5 separate regions of the Homo sapiens genome follow, and all the other regions are linked to region 5. Evidence: promoter capture Hi-C in human tissues and cell types (Jung and others, 2019). All regions are on one chromosome and are shown on one strand. Each heading gives the region's core, a stretch centred on a gene start or on the middle of the fragment in contact. The rest is flanking DNA. Distances are from core to core; before and after follow the strand shown. Region 1 holds the start of GLT8D1 (glycosyltransferase 8 domain containing 1). Region 2 overlaps PBRM1 (polybromo 1). Region 3 overlaps PBRM1 (polybromo 1). Region 4 overlaps PBRM1 (polybromo 1). Region 5 holds the start of TNNC1 (troponin C1, slow skeletal and cardiac type).

Region 1 (4,244 bases), core at 507-3,006, 250 kb after region 5:
ATGTATACAAAAATTCACGGATGCTCAAGTCCCTTATGTAAAATGGCATATTACAGTCAGCCCTCTGTATCTGTAATTTCAGTCCGTGGTTGGTTGAATCCAAGGATACAAAACTGTGGATACAAAAAAAAAAGACCGCACTGGCCGGGCGCGGTGGCTCATGCCTGTAATCCCAGCACTTTGGAAGGCCGAGGTGGGTGGATCACTTGAGGTCAGGCGTTTGAGACTAGTCTGGCCAACACAGTGAAACCCCGTCTCCACTAAAATCACAAAAATTAGCCGGGCGTGGTGGCGCATGCCTGTAATCCCAGCTACTCAGAAGGCTGAGGCAGGACAATCCCTTGAACCCAGGAGGCGGAGGTTGCAGTGAGCCGCGATCGCACCACTGCACTCCAGCCTGGGCAACAGAGCGAGTCTTCGCCTCAAAAAAAAAAAAAAAAAAAAAAAAAGACCACACAGAGATATATCTATTTATACACACAACAGAAAGTCTCTTCAAACACACCAAGAAATACAGAGCATGAGAAGGAAACAGGAATAAACTCTTGCCCATCCCTCTTTCTGCCTTCTACACGTCCTGAGTCCTTCTGAGGTCAGAAAAGTGTCAAACGTGTCTGCATTTTACTGTTTGGTCTCTGCCACGTGCAAGGATGAAAGGGCACTGAGGATATACAAACACTTTCTCCTACCCTTTCATCTGGCTGGCTCCCACTTGGCATTCAAAGGTCAAGGTAGCCTCCTCCAAACTCCACGTTGAGCTGCACCTCCCCTGAGCTCCCACATCTGGGCCTCCCTCTCCCAGGGCTAATCCAGCTGTCATGTATTTCTGGCGTGATGTGGCTGTCTCCCTTGACACGCTCTGGGCTCTTCCAAGGCAACAGCCTGGTCTTGGTAACAACCGTGTCCTCGGTCTGCTGTCTGGCACAAACAAGGTGCCGTGAATATTTGCTGGTTGCATGAATGAGGACAGCAGTCCCACCCTGTCCCGGGAGTGCCTAGAATTCCACTGTTTGTGGCCAACCCAGAATACATAACCTGGGGGCCGGAGAGCCAGCTGGGACCCAGAGGCCCGGGTTCCTCAGAACGGTTTCTCTCCAAAACGTGGGCATCCCACCTGGCTGACGGTAACGGAGGAGGGTCTAAGATTTAGAGATACACCAGCCTTGAAAGAGAGGCTGAGTGAACCTTTGGCTGGCCTCTATCGGGAGGGCCCAGCCTGGGTCTGTGAGGGTCAGTAAAGCCGGCCACAATGTGAGAGGGCTGAGTTCGGGAGCCCCCAGATGAGGGACTTTCTACGCGGATGAGAGGGACAGCCGAGCACCAGGGTCCCCTCTCCAAGGGAATTCTCTCTGTTGTGGATGCCGCCTAGGGTAGCCCCCCTAAATTCCAAGGGTCAGTAGGGCCCCCCTTACACTTTGAAGTGATCGGAAAGTGATGTGACGCTCCGGGGATCCCACCAGGCTCAGAGATACCCCTGGTTAGGGCTCCGACAAGTCGTTCCCCTCAAAGGCTCGCCGCGGCCGCCCTTACTGCAGGCGATGGAGGAGATGCGGATGCAGCCCGCGCCCCGACCCGCCCTGCCAGCTCAGCGCCCGCGCCGCAGGCCCCGGAGCCCAGCCCGTTGTCTGGCCGCCCGCGTTCCCTGCACGCTGGGCCGAGCACACTTGCCCTCTAGCTCCGTGGCAGCCGCGCAGCCCCACTACGCCCAGCCAGCCCGCAGCGGTAACCGCTAGAGCGTCGCGCCAAGCAGGCGCCGCGGGGCAGCCCTGCCGCCGGGGTCCTCGCAGGGAAAAAGGCCGTCGCCATGGAGACGCGGGGGCGCCGGCGGCCGTTGGGCCGCGCAAGTACTGTCAAGGACAGTTTTCGGGACGGGGGACGCGGCTCCAGGCACCCAACAGCACTGACGGCGAACACTTCACGGGCGCGCGATGCCTCGACAAGGCGGCCGCCACCACCACCTCAGCTGCCCTCGCGGGCAGCACGGCGCGGCAAAAGCGCACGTCGCCTAGCGATGGCGCGGGGCGGGGACACGGGCTGTACCGGCCCGTCGGAGACTTCCGCTTCCGGGGCCGCCGCCATCGCTCTCCCGGGCTTAGAAGGCCCGGCTACTGACGCGCAGTGCCAGACCTTACCCCTCACGGTCCTTAAGTCTCGGTCGCCCTCGCCTCGCAGCCTGCCACCCGCGCTCAGCTGCCCGCCTCCTCAGCCAGCCATGCTGGAGCATCTGAGCTCGCTGCCCACGCAGATGGTGAGGGCGCAACCCGGGGACCTCTGCACGCCGTTCTTGTGCCTGGCAGCTTCGAAGCCCATGTTGGAGCACCGACCCGGTGCTGCGCTGTTCCGGGCCCGGATGGTTACCGTCCACCCTCTTTCCCGAATTGCCTCCTGGGTCCCCTTCTCTTCTACTCCGCGAGAATCTCCTGTCCATTCTCCGTGAGGGTGTTTCAGTTCCTCCCGGGAAGCCCAGAATTTAATATCTTGCCCAGGCCCTTAGGAGAGCGGGAGACCCTGATGTTGGGGTTACCCTGTGCCAGAGTTGTGAGGTCAGGGCAGGAATTGTATGTTCTCGGCGGTGGAACCAATTCTTTTTTTCCTCTGCTTCACCCCAGGATTACAAGGGCCAGAAGCTAGCTGAACAGATGTTTCAGGGAATTATTCTTTTTTCTGCAGTAAGTATTGGTTTTACATTTAATCTCCGCCCCCGCCTCCCTCCCAACCCTCAGTTTGAGTGTGTTTAATATACTTCATTTGTCTCTAGATAGTTGGATTTATCTACGGGTACGTGGCTGAACAGTTCGGGTGGACTGTCTATATAGTTATGGCCGGATTTGCTTTTTCATGTTTGGTAAGAAATTTGTGGGTATTAGTGGCAGCTTGGGTTTTGTGAGTCGGGTTGGTTTGGTTAGACCTACTCAGTAGTGAGACCCAAAGCCAACGTTTCCCTCATCCTTCCAAACAGCGTTTCCCTTTGCTATCATTGGAAAAGTAGAATGCCAAAATAGTGTCAGATGGTGCGAACTATATAAAAGGACACAGCTTATTTCCTTTGGCGGCTACTCTGGCTAATAATCTTAAGGTCAAAGCCAGCAGGAGTTTTCATGGTGCTCACGTTGTCCCTTCACCTTTTATTTATTTATTTATTTAAATTTTTTGAGACGGAGTTTCACTCTTGTTGCCCAGGCTGCAGTGCACTGGGGCGATTTCGGCTCACTGCACCTTCTGCCTCCCGGGTTTAATAGATTTTCCTGCCTCAGCCTCCCGAGTAGCTGTGACTACAGGAGCCCACCACCACACCCAGCTAATTTTTGTATTTTTAGTAAAGACAGGGCTTCACTGTGTTGGCCAGGCTGGTCTCAAGCAATCCGCCCACCTTGGCCTCCCAGAGTGCTTGGATTACAGGCGAGAGCCACCACGCCTGGCCCCCACCTTTCTTTTAGGTCTTAAAGCCATTTGTATAGGCAGTGAGCCTGTTCCCATCATCATACAGTATTTTGCATGGATGGTGGCACAGAGCCTTTATAGGAATATGGATTTTTTTTTTTGTTTTTTTGTTCCCTCAGCATAGGAGTCATTTGGGAACCTGGCATTATACGTAATGATTTTTTAAACTTTTAATAGCTATAATTTATGCATTTCCTCTTTTCTGGCCCAGCTGACACTTCCTCCATGGCCCATCTATCGCCGGCATCCTCTCAAGTGGTTACCTGTTCAAGAATCAAGCACAGACGACAAGAAACCAGGGGAAAGAAAAATTAAGAGGCATGCTAAAAATAATTGAGGTTTTCATGATTCAGCACCTGCTTTTGTTTCTGTGAGATGAGCTAAATTGCTTTCATACCCCAGATAAGAGCTAAAACCACCTAATGCTCTTATGGCACAGCTGTGTATAGATTTAGTTCTCTTTATACTTCATTTCTAGCCCAGTTGGGTTTTGATTTATATAAGTAGTTTAGACCTTCTCTTCATAATCTTGCTCTGAGATGGGGAACAGAACACACAAGTATGAAGTTTCTTTCAGGTGTAAATAATGAAAAATAAATGCCTCATAAATGATAGTACAATGTAACTATCAAAGTTTTATAATTCATTATGAGTTAACCATTTTAATGTTTCCAATTAAACCTCATAGTGCAAGTTCTTTGTCTAAAGGGTCTTCTGTTGATTATTCTGCAAGGAAGATAATTAATAAAAGCCTAAGTTAGAAGTTCGTGCTTCTGGCCAGGTGCAGTGGCTCTCACCTATAA
Region 2 (4,245 bases), core at 314-2,813, 160 kb after region 5:
ATCTCTACTAAAAGTACAAAAAATTAGCTGGGCGTGGTGGTGGGCACCTGTAGTCCCAGCTACTCGGGAGGCTGAGGCAGGAGAATGGCATGAACCCGGGAGGCGGAGCTTGCAGTGAGCTGAGATGGCGCCACTGCACTCCAGCCTGGGCGACAGAGCGAGACTCCGTCTCAAAAAAAAATCAAGATGCTCTGTAGCAAAATCAATTAAATAAATTATTTAGAGGTACATTTATGGGACTATCATGCTGATTTTTATATAATTATACATTTTCTATATAGGCTGTCTTTGGAGAAGTATGGTCGTTGAGGATCGTAGTAATGATGATGATGAAAGATTTTAATACTATTGGCTTTCCTTTGAGTGCTTATTCAGTACCAGGCACTCTGCTAAATGCTCAGTATACATTATCTCTTTTAAATCCTACAACAACCCTGATGCAAGTACTATTATTAGCCCTAATTTATAGATGAAGAAATTGAGGCTCAGGAAGGATAAATTACTTACACAGGGACTGGCAGAGCAAAATTCAAATCTAGGATGTCAGATTACAAAGTAGGAACGTTTATCTTTATAATGTACTGCCTCTGATTGTAAACAATGAAGAAAAATCAATTAACCTAGTCACCAAAAAGAATAATCTAAGTTAAGCCTCTAGAGCTGGTCTCTCAAAATGCATTATTCTATAAGTACCCCTCTCCCGCAAAATGTGCCTACTTCAGGACCGCTGGCCCTCCTTACCTGGGAGCCCTCCTCATTATAGTGCCTGGCATTCCGGAACATCAGCTTCATGTCTTCTATCATTCCCTCTTCACCAGCATATTTGTCATTGCGGATGTTATGCTCAATTATTTTCAAGTCCATTGGCTCCAAGATGATTTTATAATAATCAGGATAGTCCTTTTTGGATGGTTTAACCATAAATAGGTCACAAAGTCTTCTGCCTGAACCTGGCTCTCGAGCTTCAAGAACAACATTGAATAAGATTTTCATTCGCTGCTTTCTTATGTTCTTTTTACTGTTGAGGGGGAGGTAGAAAAGGGGAAAAATTAGAATAGGTTCAGTTTTCTTAATATACGGATGACCACAAAATAAAACAAATTATTTATGGTGCTTTATAATGATTACAATTTATTGATTACATATGCCACAAACACAGTAACCATGCTGGAAGTTATAAGCAAATATTAGGAAAATTTCCAAAATAGTTAAAACACAGTAATTCTGGCAGGAGCAGTTAATGAACACCAAAAAAACTTTTTAGATATGTCATGAAATGCAATGTTTGAAATAAGATCCTCTCTGATACCAAAAGAAAATGAAATTATATAGTCAACTGAGATATATTTTTTGTTTAAAGATGAGTACAGCCAAAGTGCAATAAAACTAGCAATTCTCTACGGTTATAATATCCTCACTTCCAAGTACAAAAACAAAACAAAATAAAAAACCTAAAAAGAGAAGTGTTTCATCTCTTAAGACAAGTACTCCTGAACACTTGTGTATTTTGGTTGTCTGAAAACAAAAGGAGACTGCCAGACTAGTGTCTTTACAGTGGGTATGAGCCTCTCTTGCATTGATTCTGTCAGGGTCGTCCTTGCTTTCTCCATCAGCATTATTCCACAGTTCCAACCTACTTTAAAGAATAAGCGGTGTGGTTAATCTGAGTTTTCTAGAGTAAAATTTCCATCCTTGAGCATGAATCCGTCTTGTTCTCCAAATTCCCCCAGTGAGATGTGATGCTGAGAAGCTGATTTAAGCAGTATGGAACAAAGCATAAGGGACTATAGATTAGATCCAGAGTTCAAAAGGGCTCCAAGAGAGCAGATGGTCTATCTCTTAATTGCTGAGAAAACTGGCTCAGAGGGGGTAAAAGACTTGCCCAAGGTAAGTTTCCTAGTAAATTATTAGAAGCAATGATCTTCCGATATGGCTTCCGGTTAACTATTCTTATGTACTCAGGGCACGGCTAAAGAAATTCTAGCCAGATAAAGAAATTCTAGTCAGACTAACCAGCAGTCTCCAAGTGAACAGTGAAGTAGGTAATAACAAGAAATGACTTATGACTTAGTTTTTTTTTTTTTTTTTTTTGAGATGGAGTTCCGCTCTTGTTGCCCAGGCTTGTGTGCAATGGCACGATCTCAGCTCACCGCAACCTCTGCCTCCTGGGTTCAAGCGATTCTCCTGCCTCAGCCTTCCAAGTAGCTGGGATTACAGGCGCCTGCCACGACGCCCTGCTTTTTTTTTTGAGATGGAGTTTCACTCTTGTTGCCCAGGCTGGAGTGCAACGGTGTGATCTCTGCTCACCGCAACCTTCGCCTCCTGGGTTCAAGCAATTCTCTTGCCTCAGCCTCCCGAGTAGCTAGGATTACAGGCATGCACCACCACGCTTGGCTAATTTTGTATTTTTCGTAGACAGGGTTTCTCCATGTTGGTCAGGCTAGTCTCGAACTCCCGACCTCAGGTGATCCGCCTGCCTCGGCCTCCCAAAGTGCTGGGATTACAGACTTGAGCCATCGGGCTCGGCTGTGCCCGGCTAATTTTTGTATTTTTAGTAGAGACGGGGTTTCACCATGTTAGCCAGGCTGGTCTCAAACTCCTGACCTCAGGTGATCCGCCCACCTTGGCCTCCCAAAGTGTTGGGATTACAGGCGTGAGCCACTGCGCCTGGCCAACTTAATTTCTATTAAAAAAATATTTACTAAGGTCCTATAGTATAGTCATCCCTTGGTATTCATGGGGAATTGGTTTCAGGATCTCCCTTGTATACCGAAATACATAGATGCTCAAGTCCCTGATACAAAATGGTGTAGTATTTGCAAATAACATGTGCACATCCTCCTGTATACTTCAAATCATCTCTAAATTACTTATAATACCTAATACATTAAAAATGCTATATAGTTGTTTTGTTACACTGTATTGCTTAGGACATGACAGAAAAAAAGTCTGTACATGTACAGTAAAGATGCAATTAAAAAATTTTTTTTTCTATCCATAGTTGGTTGAATCCCTGGATGTGGAAGCCATGGATACAGAGGGCCAACTGTACTTAGAGGTAAATATTTTGTATCTGTTCCCTATCCTTTAGGTGGAAGAAAGTTCATTCCTCAGGCAAACTATATGTGGCTGTATAGGTCTTCTGGTCCAGTCCCCTGACTACTTGCACTACTCCTGGGTCATGAAGAAGCCAAAGGCCAGATCTTTTCTCTCCAAGGTTCAAAATACACTTTTTTAAAACACAGAAAGAAAAATCAAGAATTAACAGTTGAGAAAATAAACATCTATCCTTAAGATTTTTAGGCTTTTCAGAAATGCCTATAACTCAAGGCAAACAAAGTGATTTAATTAGGAAAAAAACAGACAAGAGCCTGTTTCCTGCTAGAGTTGGGATCATCCTCATAACTTGTGTCTTCACTCTGACTGCTTATTTCCTGCTCATTGTGGACCTCAGACAATTCCTGCCATTTTCTCCCCTCAGCACTTTTTTTTCTGTTAGATAAGTTTGTTAGATGATGGCAAAACGTTTGTTAGATATTTTACCTAGTGGAAACTCCTTCTCCAAGGAGACATCCTGGGGCAATGATGTGACAGGAAGAGTTCTCTCATTCTAAGTCTTCGGCAAGTGGATAATACAAGGGAAGTTAGGACAAAGCTCCAATACCACAGAGCTCCACATCTGGGCACAGATTAGAACACAGATGACTTTAACCTTCAGGAAGTCTCTAAAGAAAAATTTCAGAACCTGACTTTGAAGTCAGATGTGGTTTGATTAGATCTCGCATGTGGGGTGGACTTTAAAAGGAAGACAGAGGAATTCAATTCTGAAGCTCTAAGCTTACAGGATCTCTCCAATAAACAGGACAGGATGAAATTAGTCCTCATTCTAGCAATTTCAAGAAGCTTAACAGTTCAGTCAAGGCCCTGACCTGGACCAGGAGGTGCTCACCCCATTCCCATCTGGGTTTCAGCACACTAAGCCCAATTATCATTAGGTTTTTCTGTATGAAGCTGCAAATACTCTCAGATGGGAGTAAATCTAGGGCAGATTTTTATAAGAGGAGAGAAAGTTTTTAATTAAATTTTGCCAGTGAAGTAAAAGAATGGCAAGCGGTCCATTCTTCCAATGCCAGTAATTCTGATACTTGGCAGCTTTGAGTGAGACATACCCAGAATGTGGAAATCTAGTTGTATATATGAAACTGCTCTAATAACTGAAATTTACTGTTTTAGCACTCATATTAC
Region 3 (4,162 bases), core at 1,046-3,545, 200 kb after region 5:
AGCTTTTATTCTAACGTATCCTAAAGCTATTTGGAAGCAGATAAAAATAAACAACAGGTTACCCCATCTACCCTGATGTGATTATTATGCACTGTATGCCAGTATCAAAATTTCATGTACCCCATAAATACATACACCTGCTATGCACCCACAAAAATAAAAAATTTAAAAATTAAAAATGAAATAAATCTTTTGTCACAAATGTATCTTTTATAATCAGAAATGTCGGTAACCAATGTGTTTTAATTTTTGTCCTAAGATGCAATCCAAAGCTACAATCAGTAACACTATTTTAATTTATTTACATGATTTGCTAATAACCCCTTACAGAGACAACTAGCTTCTCTGTTTTCTAAAAGCTTCTAGGAAAGATCATAGGCCAATCTGCTCTAAACCACAATCATTTACTTATGGTCATCTTCATACCTGTATCCTCTGGGCAATGGTCTTGAGATCTATAGGCTCCTTAATTATTGCATAATAATCTGGATATTGCTGGAAGACAAAAAACCAGGCATGCTCAATAAGTTAAACTATTCAGCTAATGAAAAGAGAAGGAAGTACATTGACAATCTGTTGTTCAAACAACCAGTGAAGCAGCTTTGTGAGATTCAAGACTAAAGACATGGCTGTACAGCACATTTATTATATCAGAACCATAAAGAATTTAATCTTAAGAAGCTTCATGATCTATCCAACAGCATGACTTAGGAGTTAAAACTTGGTATTTTGAGTGTTATTATGCAACTAGCATAAAATTTAATGTTTTAAAAAATTCTAGGCTGGGGCCGGGTGCGGTAGCTCACGCCTGCAATCCCAGCACTTTGGGAGGCCGAGGCAGGTGGATCACCTGAGGTCAGGAGTTCAAGACCAGCCTGGCCAACATGGTGAAACCCCATCTCTACTAAAAATACAAAAATTAGCCGGGCGTGGTGGCAGGCACCTGTAATCCCAGCTACTCAGGAGGCTGAGGCAAGAGGATCGCTTGAACCTGGGAGGCAGAGATTGCAGTGAGCTGAGATCGTGCCATTATACTCCAGCCTGGGGGACAAGAAAGAGACTTCGTCTCAAAAAAAAAAAAAAAAATTCTAGGCAGGGCACGGTGGCTCACACCTGTAATCCCAGAACTTTGGGAGGCCGAGGCGGGTGGTTCACGAGGTCAGGAGATTGAGACCATCCTGGCTAACGTGGTGAAACCCTGTCTCTACTAAAAATAGAAAAAAAATTGGCTGGGCATGGTGGCATACAACTATAGTCCCAGCTACTCTGGAGGCTGAGGGAGGAGAATCGCTTGAACCCAAGAGGCAGAGGTTGCAGCGAGCCGAGATCATGCCACTGCACTCCAGCCTGGGCGGCACAGCAAGACTCCATCTCAAAAAAAAAATAAATAATCTAAATTCGGCAAGGCGCGGTGGCTCACACCTGTAATCCCAGCACTTCGGGATGCTGAGGCAGCTGGATCACTTGAGGTCAGAAGTTCAAGACCAACCTGGCCAACATAGCGAAACCCTGTCTCCATTAAAAATACAAAAATTAGCCAGGCATGGTGGTGTGCGCCTGTAATCCCAGCTACTCAGGAGGCTAAGGCAGGGCAATCACTTGAGCGCAGGAGATGGAGGTTGCAGTGAGCCGAGATCACGCCATTGTACTCCAGCCTGTGCAACAGAGCAAGATTCCGTCTCAAAAAACAAACAAAAATTCTAAATTCACAGAATTATACAATTTTTCATTTAAGGTCCCAAGATATCTATGCCTAGAAATAAAGTAGAAGAAATGCTCTTTAGGAGTTTGTTACAAGCTCTTTTAATTTTGCAATCTAAATAACGTTATTATATAATATTCACATAAACTTTCATAAGGATCTGTAAGAAGTCAGGTTGCAAAATTTGTTAGCTTCATGTTTAACTTGATGCTTCTGCTTATTTCAGTCAAAGTAAGTTTTTTCAAAACAAAATACCTTTTGAATGAAACTTTGTTAAAGAAATGAAGCACGGCTGGGCATGGTGGCTCGCGCCTGTAATCCCAGCACTTTGGGAGGCTGAGGTGGGTGGATCACCTGAAGTCAGGAGTTCGAGACTAGCCTGGCCAACATGGTGAAACCCCATCTCTACTAAAAATTCAAAATTAGCCTGGTATGTTGGTGCATGCATGTAATCCCAGCTACTTGGGAGGCTGAGGCAGGAGAATCGCTTGAACCTGGGAGGTGGAGGTTGCAGTGAGCTGAGATTGCTCCATTGCACTCCAGCCTGGGCAAGAAGAGCAGAATTCTGTCTCAAAAAAAAAAAAAAGAAAGAAAGAAATGAAGCAAAATTCTGGTCAGGCATGGTGGCTCATGCCTGTAATCCCTGCACTTCGGGAGGCCGAGACGGGCAGATCACGAGGTCAGGAGTTCAAGACCAGCCTGGCCAATATGGTGAAACCCCGTCTCTACTAAAAATACAAAAATTAGCTGGGTGTGGTGGCGGGTGCCTGTAATTCCAGCTACTCAGGAGGCTGAGGCAGGAGAATCGCTTGAACCTGGGAGGCAGAGGTTGCAGTGGGCTGAGATCACGCCACTGCACTCCAGCCTGGGTGACAGAGCAAGACTGTCTTGAAAAAAGAAAAGAAATGAAGCAAAATTATTAGCAACTTCTGATTTATCAAATACTAGGTCATCCCAAGAAATTGAACATGTTGAGGAATGTCCTTGAAGCTTTCACAACAACCTAGAATCACTCACTGCACTCAGGCTTTCCTACAGATTTTCTTCCTTGGAGGAAATAACTGAAGTTGCCCAAATATCAAAAGTTGGTCTTATCAGATGGGAGAGGTTCAGGGGAAGTCAGATTGTGCTCTCCCAACTCTTCCCACCTGTTCAAACCCTACTGAAGCCCACGCAGCAACAACAAAAGCAGAAAGCCACAGCCTTCACTCAGTTACTGGGCTGAACAGATTATCTCAGTGTTGTTTTATCTCATCTGTCCCCTAAGCTTACCACTACTTTCTTAACCCTACTCCTTCCTTTACTTGGATGAATCTCCATTGCTGCCCCTTCTCTTCACCAGTTCTACTTCTGAGAGAAAGTTCAGAGGACAAATTATGGCAAGGCCACCCAGCATGGAGTACAAAGTAATTCAAAGTCATCCAATCCCACAAATTCCCAATCTATCTCTCCCATGCAGCCAGCTTGCTTGGGACGGACTTACTAAGGAAAGGTGAAAACTGTCCTGCCCCTTCAGCTGTCAATCCTTGTTGTCTTTCAAACTGTCACACCCTGAGAGACCAATAGAAACCTGCTTTTCCCAACCAGCTCCTTCAAGGTGACCTTGAAGGGGGAATGGGGGGAACTAATTATTGATGTTTCATTGCCCCATATCACTGTTGTTGATTTGACCATCACTGATTATCTCCTGCAGGGTAAGAATAAATCTTGAGCGAAGACAGTACTTCTATTTTGTGTGTATGTGTGCATGTGTGAATGAGAGTTGACAGAGAGCGAGAGAGAGAAAAAGAGACGGGGTCTCTTTCTGTTGCCTAGGTTGGAGTGAAGTGGCATGATCACAGCTCACTGCGGCCTTGAACTCCTAGGCTCAAGTGATCCTCCAAACTCAGCCCCACCAAACAGCTGTGACTACAGGTGCACACCACCATGACTAGCTAATTAAAAAAATTTTTTTTGTAGAGACAGAGTCTCAGCTATGTTGGCCTCTCAAAGCTCTGGGATTACAGGTGTGGGTCACTACACCTATCCTGTACTTCTTTTATAATTTTTTTTACTGTAATAAAATAAATTTCATGTAGTAACATGAAATTTGCCATTTTTAAGTGTACAGTTCTGTGGCATGAGGTACACTCACACTGCTGTGCAACTATCACTGACATCCACCTCCAGAACTTTTTAATCTTGCAAAATGGAAACTCTGTACATATTAAACAACTCCCCATTCCCTCCAGCCCCTGGCAACCACCATTCTAACTTTATGTCTCTAAGATTTTGAGTATTCTAGGTACCTCATATAAGAAATCATACAGTATTTGTCCTTTTGTGACTGGCTCATTTTGCTTAAAATAATGTCTTTAGAGTTCATCCATGTAGGATGTTTCAGAATTTCCTTCCTTTTTAACGCCAAATAATATGCCACTGTATGTATATGTCACATATACATTCATTCACTGATGGACA
Region 4 (3,966 bases), core at 780-3,279, 220 kb after region 5:
AATTGGTAAACACTTAGCTAGATTAACTAAGAAAGAAAGAGCTGAGCACGGTGGCTCACGCCTGTAATGCCAGCACTTTGGAAGGCCAAGGTAGGCGGATCACCTAAGGTCGGGAGTTTGAGACCAGCCTGACCAACATAGAGAAACCCTGTCTCTACTAAAAATACAAAATTAGCTGGGCGTGGTGGCCCATGCCTGTAATCCCAGCTACTCGGGAAGCTGGGGCAGGAGAATCGCTTGAACCTGGGAAACGGAGGTTGTGGTGAGCCACAATCGAGATCGCACCACTGCACTCCAGCCTGGTGCGAAACTCCATCTCAAAAAAAAAAAAAAAAAAGAGAGAGAGAGGCTGGGTGTGGTGGCTCACACTTGTGATCCTAGCACTTCGGGAGGCCAAGGTAGGAGGATCACTTGAGCCCAGGAGTTTGAGACCAGCCTGGGCAACACAGGGAAACCCTGTCTCTACCAAAAAAAAAAAAAAAAATATATATATATATATATATATACACACACACACACACATATATCTCCTTACCTAACATTACATACGTTATTTTTTAATATGTATGTAGCGTTAGGTAAGAATCCAGCATATTTTTACATATATAAATAAAAAATACGTTATATATACAATATATATATTTTATGTGTTTACTATATACATACACACGTATATATAACATATATATTAGCCAGGTATGGTAGCATCAGGTGAGAGGACTGCTTGAGTCCGGGAGGTTGAGTCTGCACTGAACTGTGATTGCCACTGCACTCCAGCCTGGGTGCCAAAGCAAGATCCTGTCTCAAAAAAAGACAGAAAGGAGGAGGGAGGGAGGGAAGAAGTAAGGGAGAAAAGAGATGCAAATAACTAAAATCATAAAGAGGAGACATTACAACCAATGCCACAAAAATAAAAAGGATTATGAGAGTTCTAGGAAAACATGTATGCCAACAAATTAGATAAACTAGAAGAAATGGATAATTTCCTAGAAACACACAACCTACTAAAGACATACAAAGCCTGAGTAAACCTATAACTAGTAAGGAGACTGAATCAGTAATAAAAAATCTCCCACAAAGAAAATCCCTAGACTGATAGCTTCACTGATGAATTCTAACCAGACATTTCAAGAACTAACACACCAAGCCTTATGAAACTTTTCCAAAAAATTGAAGAGGCGAGGTCACGTCCTAACTTATTCTATGAAGCTAGCATTACTCTGATACCAAAGCCAGACAAAGATACTACAAGAAAACTACTGATCAATATCCCTTATGAATACTGATGCAAAATTTCTCAATAAAATATTAGCAAACTGAATTCAGCAGGATATTAAAAGGATTATATACCATAACCAGGTGGGATTTATTCCACAGTGAACAAGGTGTTGAAGTGGTGAAAGTGGGCATCTCTGTCTTGTTCGTGATCTTAGAGGAAAAGCTTTAAGTATTTTGCCACTGAATATGTTGTTCACAGTAATCAAAATGTGTGCTACTGGTATAAAAACAGACACAGGGACCAATGGAATAGAATGGAGCCTAGAAACGACCCTCACATACACGGTCAAGCAAATTTTGACAAAGGCGCCAAAACCATTCAATGAGAAAAGCACAGTCTTTTCAACAAACGATACCGGGAAAACTGGATACACACATATAAAGAATGAAGCGGGGGCCGGGCGCGGTGGCTCACGCCTGTAATCCCAGCACTTTGGGAGGCCGAGGCGGGCGGATCACGAGGTCAGGAGATCGAGACCATCCCGGCTAAAATGGTGAAACCCCGTCTCTACTAAAAATACAAAAAATTAGCCGGGCGTAGTGGCGGGCGCCTGTAGTCCCAGCTACTTGGGAGGCTGAGGCGGGAGAATGGCGTGAACCCGGGAGGCGGAGCTTGCAGTGAGCCGAGATCCCGCCACTGCACTCCAGCCTGGGCGACAGAGCGAGACTCCGTCTCAAAAAAAAAAAAAAAAAAAAAAAAAAAAAAAAAAAAAATAATGAATGAAGCGGGATCCTTACCTAAACACTACTTATAAAAATTCAAAATGGATCAAAGGCCTAAATGTAAGAGCTAAAACTATAAAACTCTTAGAGGAAAACCAATACAGTTTGGCTGTATCCCCATTCAAATCTCAGCTTGAATTGTTATCTCCTAGAATTCCCACATGTTGTGGGAGGGACCCAGAGGGAGGTAACTGAATCATGGAGGCCAGTCTTTCCCGTGCTATTCTCGTGATAGTGATTAAGTTGCATGAGATCTGATGGGTTTATTAGGGGTTCCCACTTTTGCTTCTTGCTTATTTTTCTCTTGCCACTGATGTAAGAAGTGCCTTTCACCTCCCACCATGATTCTGAGGCCTCCCCAGCCATATGGAACTGTAAGTTCAGTTAAACCTCTTTTTCTTCCCAGTCTCGGGTATGTCTTTATCAGCAGTGTGAAAACCAACTGATACAGTAAATTGATACCAGTAGAGTTGGGCGCTGCTGAAAAGATACCCGAAAATGTGGAAGCGACTTTGGAACTGGATAACAGGCAGAGGATGCAACAGTTTGGAGGGCTCAGAAGAAGACAGGAAAATGTGGGAGTTTGGAACTTCCTAGAGACTTGAATGGCTTTGACCAAAAGCCTGATAACAATACGGACAATAAGGTCCAGGCTGAGGTGGTCTCAGATGGAGATGAGGAACTTGCTGGGAATTGGAGTAAAGGTGACTTTTGTTATGTTTTAGCAAAGAGACTGGGGCATTTCGCCCCTGCTCTAGAGATCTGTGGAAGTTTGAACTTGAGAAAGATGATTTAGGGTATCTGGCAGAAGAAACTTCTAAGCAGCAAAGCATTCAAGAGGTGAGTTGGGTACTGTTTAAGGCATTCAGTTTTATAAGGGAAGCAGAGCATAAAAGTTTGGAAAATTTGCAGCCTAGTCCTGTCCAAGAGAACCCTGATTAATACAAAAACATAGGGGAAAAGCTTCATGATATTGGATTTGGCATTAATTTCATGGATATGACACCAAAGGCACAGGCAACAAGAGAAAAAGACAACATAAACTTCATGAAAATTAAAACCTTTTGTACATCTAAGGACACCGTACAAAATGAAAAGGCAACCTACAGAATGGCTCTATCACCCAGGCTGGAATACAGTGGCGGGATCTCAGCTCACTGCAACCTCTGCCTCCCAGGTTCAAGCAATTCTCCTGCCTCAGCCTCCCAAGTAGCTGGGATTACAGGCGCCCCACCACCATGCTCGGCTTTTTTTTTTTTTTTTTTTTTGAGATGGAGTTTCACTCTTGTCACCAAGGCTGGAGTGCAACGGTACGATCTCGGCTCACTGCAACCTCCACCTCCCGGGTTCAAGTGATTCTCCTGCCTCAGTCTCCCAAGTAGCTGGGATTACAGGCGCCCACCACCAAGCCTGGCTAATTTTTGTATTTTTAGTAGAGACGGGGTTTCACCACGTTGGCCAGGCTGGTCTCAAACTGCTGACCTCAGCTGATCCACCCGCCTTCGCCTCCCAAAGTGCTAGGATTACAGGAATGAGCCATTGCGCCCAGCCTTGCACCTGGCTAATTTTTGTATTTTTTAGTAGAGACAGGGTTTTGCCATGTTGGCCAGGCTGGTCTCGAACTCCTGGCCTCAGGTGATTTGCCCACCTATAGACCTCCCAAAGTGGTGGGATTACAGGCGTGAGCCACTGTGCCTGGTCAGTACTCTTTTTTAAATATTTATTTTTAGGCAAGCTCTTGCTCCATCACCCAGGTTGGAGTGCAGTGACACTCATGGCTTACTGCAGCCTCAAATTCCCAGGCTCAAACAATCCTACCACCCCAGCCTCCCTAGTAGCTGGGTCTATAGGTGAGCACCACCACACCTGGCTAATTTTTCAAAAAATTTTTTGTAGAGATGGGTCTCACTATGTTGCCCAGGCTGGTCTCAAATTCTTGGCCTCAAGAGATCTTTCCGCATAGGT
Region 5 (3,819 bases), core at 726-3,225:
AGCTGGGGTTCTTCTGGAGCCTGGGGAGGAGGGGGCTCACCGTCCTCGTCCACCTCATCGATCATCTCCTGCAGCTCCTCAGGGGTGGGGTTCTGGCCCAGCATCCTCATCACCTTGCCCAGCTCCTTGGTGCTGATGCAGCCATCCTCAGCGCCCAGCACGAAGATGTCGAAGGCTGCCTTGAACTCTGTGTTCAGGGGTTGGGGGGCACAGTAGTCAGGGCTCAGCAGCCAGGACCACGGAGGGCCAGAACCCTGGGGCCACCTGCCAACCTGCCCACCTCCCTCGGAGACCTCTCTGAGGGCAGAGCAAGAGGGACCAAGCCTCTGGTCTCTGGCCTGGGGTCCTCTTCTGATAAGGGGTCCCCATGCCAGCCTGGACCCGCTGGTCTCCCACATGTGTGATAGGGATTCTCACCATTTTTCTGCTCTTCTGTCAGCTGCTCTACCTAGAAAGGAAAGGGAATCTCAAGGCTCAGACTCAGGTATAGCTGCTGCTGAGGAAACCAACCCATTCCACAGGTGAGAAGGCTGGAGCTGGAGGAGGCAGGCTATTTCCAGGCCACAGAGTGGAGGTCTCAGTCCTCCCTCCCTGCCCCCAAAGCCCTGACGTGACCCAGCTGGCCTCACTGCGACTGGGCTCAGGGCCAGGGTGACAGGTGGGCACCCCCTTCAGGACCAAGGTGACCCTCAGTAACAATAGTCAGTGACCACTCAATGCCCTTTCGGCCCCTGATGAAACTCAAGCTGGGTGGCCCGAAGGACAGCTGTCCCTCAAGTTGGGATAATAAAACCAGTGTGGAGGCAGGCAAGCCACCCACGGTAACCTGACCAGGGTGGCCACTGGGCTATTTTTAACGAGGAACAAAGTTAAACCTGGTGATTGTTCTGGGGACTTTGGCATGCAGGGGGTGGGGCAGCGTTATCTGGCCCCCTGGCCTGCTAGTGCCGCCTCAGAAGCCAAAATTAGTCCCCAACTCCGCCAGGCCTTGTATGGGCACTGGGTGGAGGGCTGTCCCAACCCCGGCTCCATGGACTCCCACAGGATAAGCAGGCGTGCCCCCAGAGCTGGCTATAGCACTTCCCTGCCCAGGAGTGAGGGAGGCTGAGGGAGGGGTTCCCCTGGGGACAGCTGGCCATGCCAGGATGTCCTTGCTCTGGGGTTGGGGGAGGTCACCACCACCCAGGATAGAATAGCATCTGAAGACCCTCAGTGACCCAGGAGGTTGCAGGGGCTTGGGGTGACCACTCTCCAGCCCTCATTCCCTCGCTCTCACCCCTAGCTAAGCCACTGAGCCCTGAGCCTGCCAGGCATGATGGGAGCTGGGGCCCCAGTTCTCTGTTCCTTCTTCCTTGGTTCTCCCTCATGTCCAGAACTTCCCTGCCTCAAACTTCAAAGCCCCATCTCCAGCCCAGGACTCAGGCTCTACAGACCCCTCCTCTCACACCCTCCACCCTCCAAAGCATCTTCGGCCCGCCAAGGGGCTGGAGTGGGGTGGCAGATTTTGAGCATGTGAGAAGCAGAATGTGAGGGGCAGAAATGGGGGTTGGGGACAGGGAGACAGTAATGGGGACTCAGACAGCTCAGGAGGAAGAGATGAAAAGAGAAAGGCAAAAACGTCCAGAGACAAATGCAGAGACATGTGGCTGAGCGACAGTGCCACAGACCACAGACACTTGGAAACAGAGAGTGAGACACGATGCTGAAAGCTGCAACCTCCTCCACCACCCTTCAGACCCGGAACCCCCTACCCCTTCTGCATCCTCAAACACCAGAATCACTGTCCCTGTGAGGGCCTGGGTTGAAGGCACGTAGGCCTTCTCCTTGGTCCCCACCACTTCCCTGGGGCTACTAACCCCGCACTCTCAGCTGAGTGAGCCCCCAGTGGGCCTGCCCACCCCAGCCCTACCCAGCCCTGTCCCTCACCGCAGCCTTGTAGATGTCATCCATGCTGGCGGCTCACAGGACAGCTTGCTGGGGTTGCCAGCCGGCCCTTGACTTAAATAGCCCTGCCCCGCTGCATTCCTGGCCCAGCCCAGCCCAGCCCAGCCCACCCCTGCGTGTAGTATCCTCCAGCCCCTCCTCTGGTCCCAGTGATCTCAGGCTGGCCTGAGTCCCCACGTCCTCTGCCCAGGGCAGGGAGCAGACGAACGGCTACAAGGACCAGGTTTCTTTCCCTCCTGTCCCCCACACTCCCCAAAGGGACTCTCTGAAAAGGTTTCTGGAATGAATGAAAACATAAGCCCAGTGCAGGACAGGAGCTACAAAGTCGTGGGCCCCAGGCAAGGTGCAACACAACAGCTCAGGCTCCCATCCAACCAGGTTGGCGGGTTGCCATGACCTCCACTTTCCAGATAAGGAAACTGAGGCTCTGGAGGAGTGGTGACTTGCCCAAGATCTGACTGACTTGGTAACCCCCGCCTTTAACTAAACCTCTCTGGAATGGGGGTGCAATGTGCAAGGAGAGGCTAGGAGTGCAGGGCCCTGCCAAGAGAAGCCTCGAATGCCAAGCTCATAGTAAGATGCTGTGGAACTGGTGAAGGAGGAAGTGACTGACCCACCTTAGGACAGGGTGGCCAGGAGCCCTTCTGCCAGAGGAGCCTGTCCCAGACCTCCCATCTGCCCAGGGAGAAGTACCCACTTCGGGCTTAAGTCAGCTGCTCTCAGTTATTCAACAGCACCCCTATAGATGCCCCATCTGTGGCAGGCTCTTTCCCTCCTCACCCTCCAATTAGGTTACCACCTCCCTCTTCTAGGTCTCATCTTTCCCCGGTTTAGGATTCAGCACTGTAGTTCCTGGGTCCAGATCAACCTGTCTCCCTCGTTTTGAACTTTGGCAGGCCACCCCGTGGGGTTCTTGTGCTCAGTGGCAGCACACACCCCTCCATCCACCTACACCTTCCTTCGTACAGAGTTCGTATCAAGTTTATCCCTCTTGATAAACACGCTCCCTGCCTCGAGCACTACTGCGTGCTGGGCCGCGCATCAATCAACCCACTCAGTTGTCCAGAAGCCCCACTGACAAGAGATCTCCGAATCTCAGAGAGGTTCAGAACTGGCCCAGAATCACTCTCGCCCTGCTCCGGCGGTAAGCACAGGTCCTATTTTCCCCTCCAACCTGCCTTGCCCTAAAGAGAAAGAGCCCAACAGCCAGGTGAGGCACTATTATGGCCTCCTTTATCAGGAGGAGTAAACTGAGGCCAGGAAGAGCAGTGACTTGCTTCGTGTGGCCTGGGAGACTCGGGACCTTCTGTCCCCTCTTCCCGAGGACCCAGGGGCGATGCCCAGAGCTGTCACCACCCGGGGTCTCAGTTTCTAGCAGGCTGTGCAGGGTACCGCCGGCGGCGCCACGCAGGTAGATTACGCAAGCGAGCACCTCGCACGCGCGCCCTGAGTGGCCCCTGTCAGTCACGCGCGGGGGCGGGGCGAGGGCGCAGGAAGAAGGCGGGGCCAAGATGGCGGCGCAGCGCGCGGCGGGGGCGACGGGCGGCGGGGGCCGGGGGGCGGTGGGACGTTGACCCCGCCCCCTGCTGCTGCTAGTCTGCGCCGGGCGGCGGTGGCGGCGGAGACCCGAACATGGCGACCGCGCGCACCTTCGGGCCCGAGCGGGAAGCCGAGCCGGCCAAGGAAGCGCGCGTCGTGGGCTCGGAGCTTGTGGACACTTATACGGTGTGTTGGGGGCGCGGGCACCCGAAGCGGGGGTGGTGGCTGGAACCGGGAGTCCGACTCGGGGGCTTGGGGAGGGGTCCGGGATCTGCAGCCCCGAGGAGCGGGTAGAAGGGTCTGCGATTGCGAGGAGGGGGCTGGGACGGGGGATCT

What was found. The method cuts DNA at HindIII sites, captures the fragments that hold promoters and counts their contacts. A contact is called where the count stands out against the background at its distance.
Region 1: the fragment with the promoter of GLT8D1 here is called in contact with the fragment with the promoter of TNNC1 in region 5 in 1 of the 25 tissues and cell types used here (adrenal gland).
Region 2: a contact is called between a fragment that was not itself captured here and the fragment with the promoter of TNNC1 in region 5, in 2 of the 25 tissues and cell types used here (dorsolateral prefrontal cortex and mesenchymal stem cells).
Region 3: a contact is called between a fragment that was not itself captured here and the fragment with the promoter of TNNC1 in region 5, in 1 of the 25 tissues and cell types used here (adrenal gland).
Region 4: a contact is called between a fragment that was not itself captured here and the fragment with the promoter of TNNC1 in region 5, in 1 of the 25 tissues and cell types used here (dorsolateral prefrontal cortex).

Annotation. Positions count from the first base shown.
Region 1 is chr3:52,704,035-52,708,278 of GRCh38, forward strand. GLT8D1 (glycosyltransferase 8 domain containing 1) reads right to left here and starts at 1,757. Exons shown (of 10, transcript NM_018446.4): 1 at 1,413-1,757. It overlaps SPCS1 (signal peptidase complex subunit 1), which reads left to right and starts at 2,072. Exons shown (of 4, transcript NM_014041.5): 1 at 2,072-2,248; 2 at 2,610-2,669; 3 at 2,759-2,845; 4 at 3,653-4,244. The coding sequence starts at 2,213. The coding sequence ends at 3,778. RefSeq lists silencers at 1,484-1,653, 3,840-3,929 and an enhancer at 3,600-3,669. The HindIII fragment of the contact is 20,736 bases long and covers 1-4,244 here.
Region 2 is chr3:52,616,521-52,620,765 of GRCh38, forward strand. PBRM1 (polybromo 1) reads right to left here. Exons shown (of 32, transcript NM_001405607.1): 16 at 742-1,018. Among named protein-coding and RNA genes, the nearest start is that of PBRM1, 67 kb to the right of the region's middle. The HindIII fragment of the contact is 4,614 bases long and covers 1-3,870 here.
Region 3 is chr3:52,651,316-52,655,477 of GRCh38, forward strand. It overlaps PBRM1 (polybromo 1), which reads right to left. Exons shown (of 32, transcript NM_001405607.1): 7 at 427-495. Among named protein-coding and RNA genes, the nearest start is that of PBRM1, 33 kb to the right of the region's middle. The HindIII fragment of the contact is 3,551 bases long and covers 521-4,071 here.
Region 4 is chr3:52,674,161-52,678,126 of GRCh38, forward strand. The region is part of intron 3 of PBRM1 (polybromo 1); the gene reads right to left. Among named protein-coding and RNA genes, the nearest start is that of PBRM1, 9.8 kb to the right of the region's middle. The HindIII fragment of the contact is 3,085 bases long and covers 488-3,572 here.
Region 5 is chr3:52,452,066-52,455,884 of GRCh38, forward strand. TNNC1 (troponin C1, slow skeletal and cardiac type) reads right to left here and starts at 1,976. Exons shown (of 6, transcript NM_003280.3): 1 at 1,927-1,976; 2 at 418-448; 3 at 41-187. The coding sequence starts at 1,950. NISCH (nischarin) reads left to right here and starts at 3,539. Exons shown (of 21, transcript NM_007184.4): 1 at 3,539-3,669. The coding sequence starts at 3,577. RefSeq lists an enhancer at 18-838 and a silencer at 3,464-3,693. The HindIII fragment of the contact is 8,260 bases long and covers 1-3,819 here.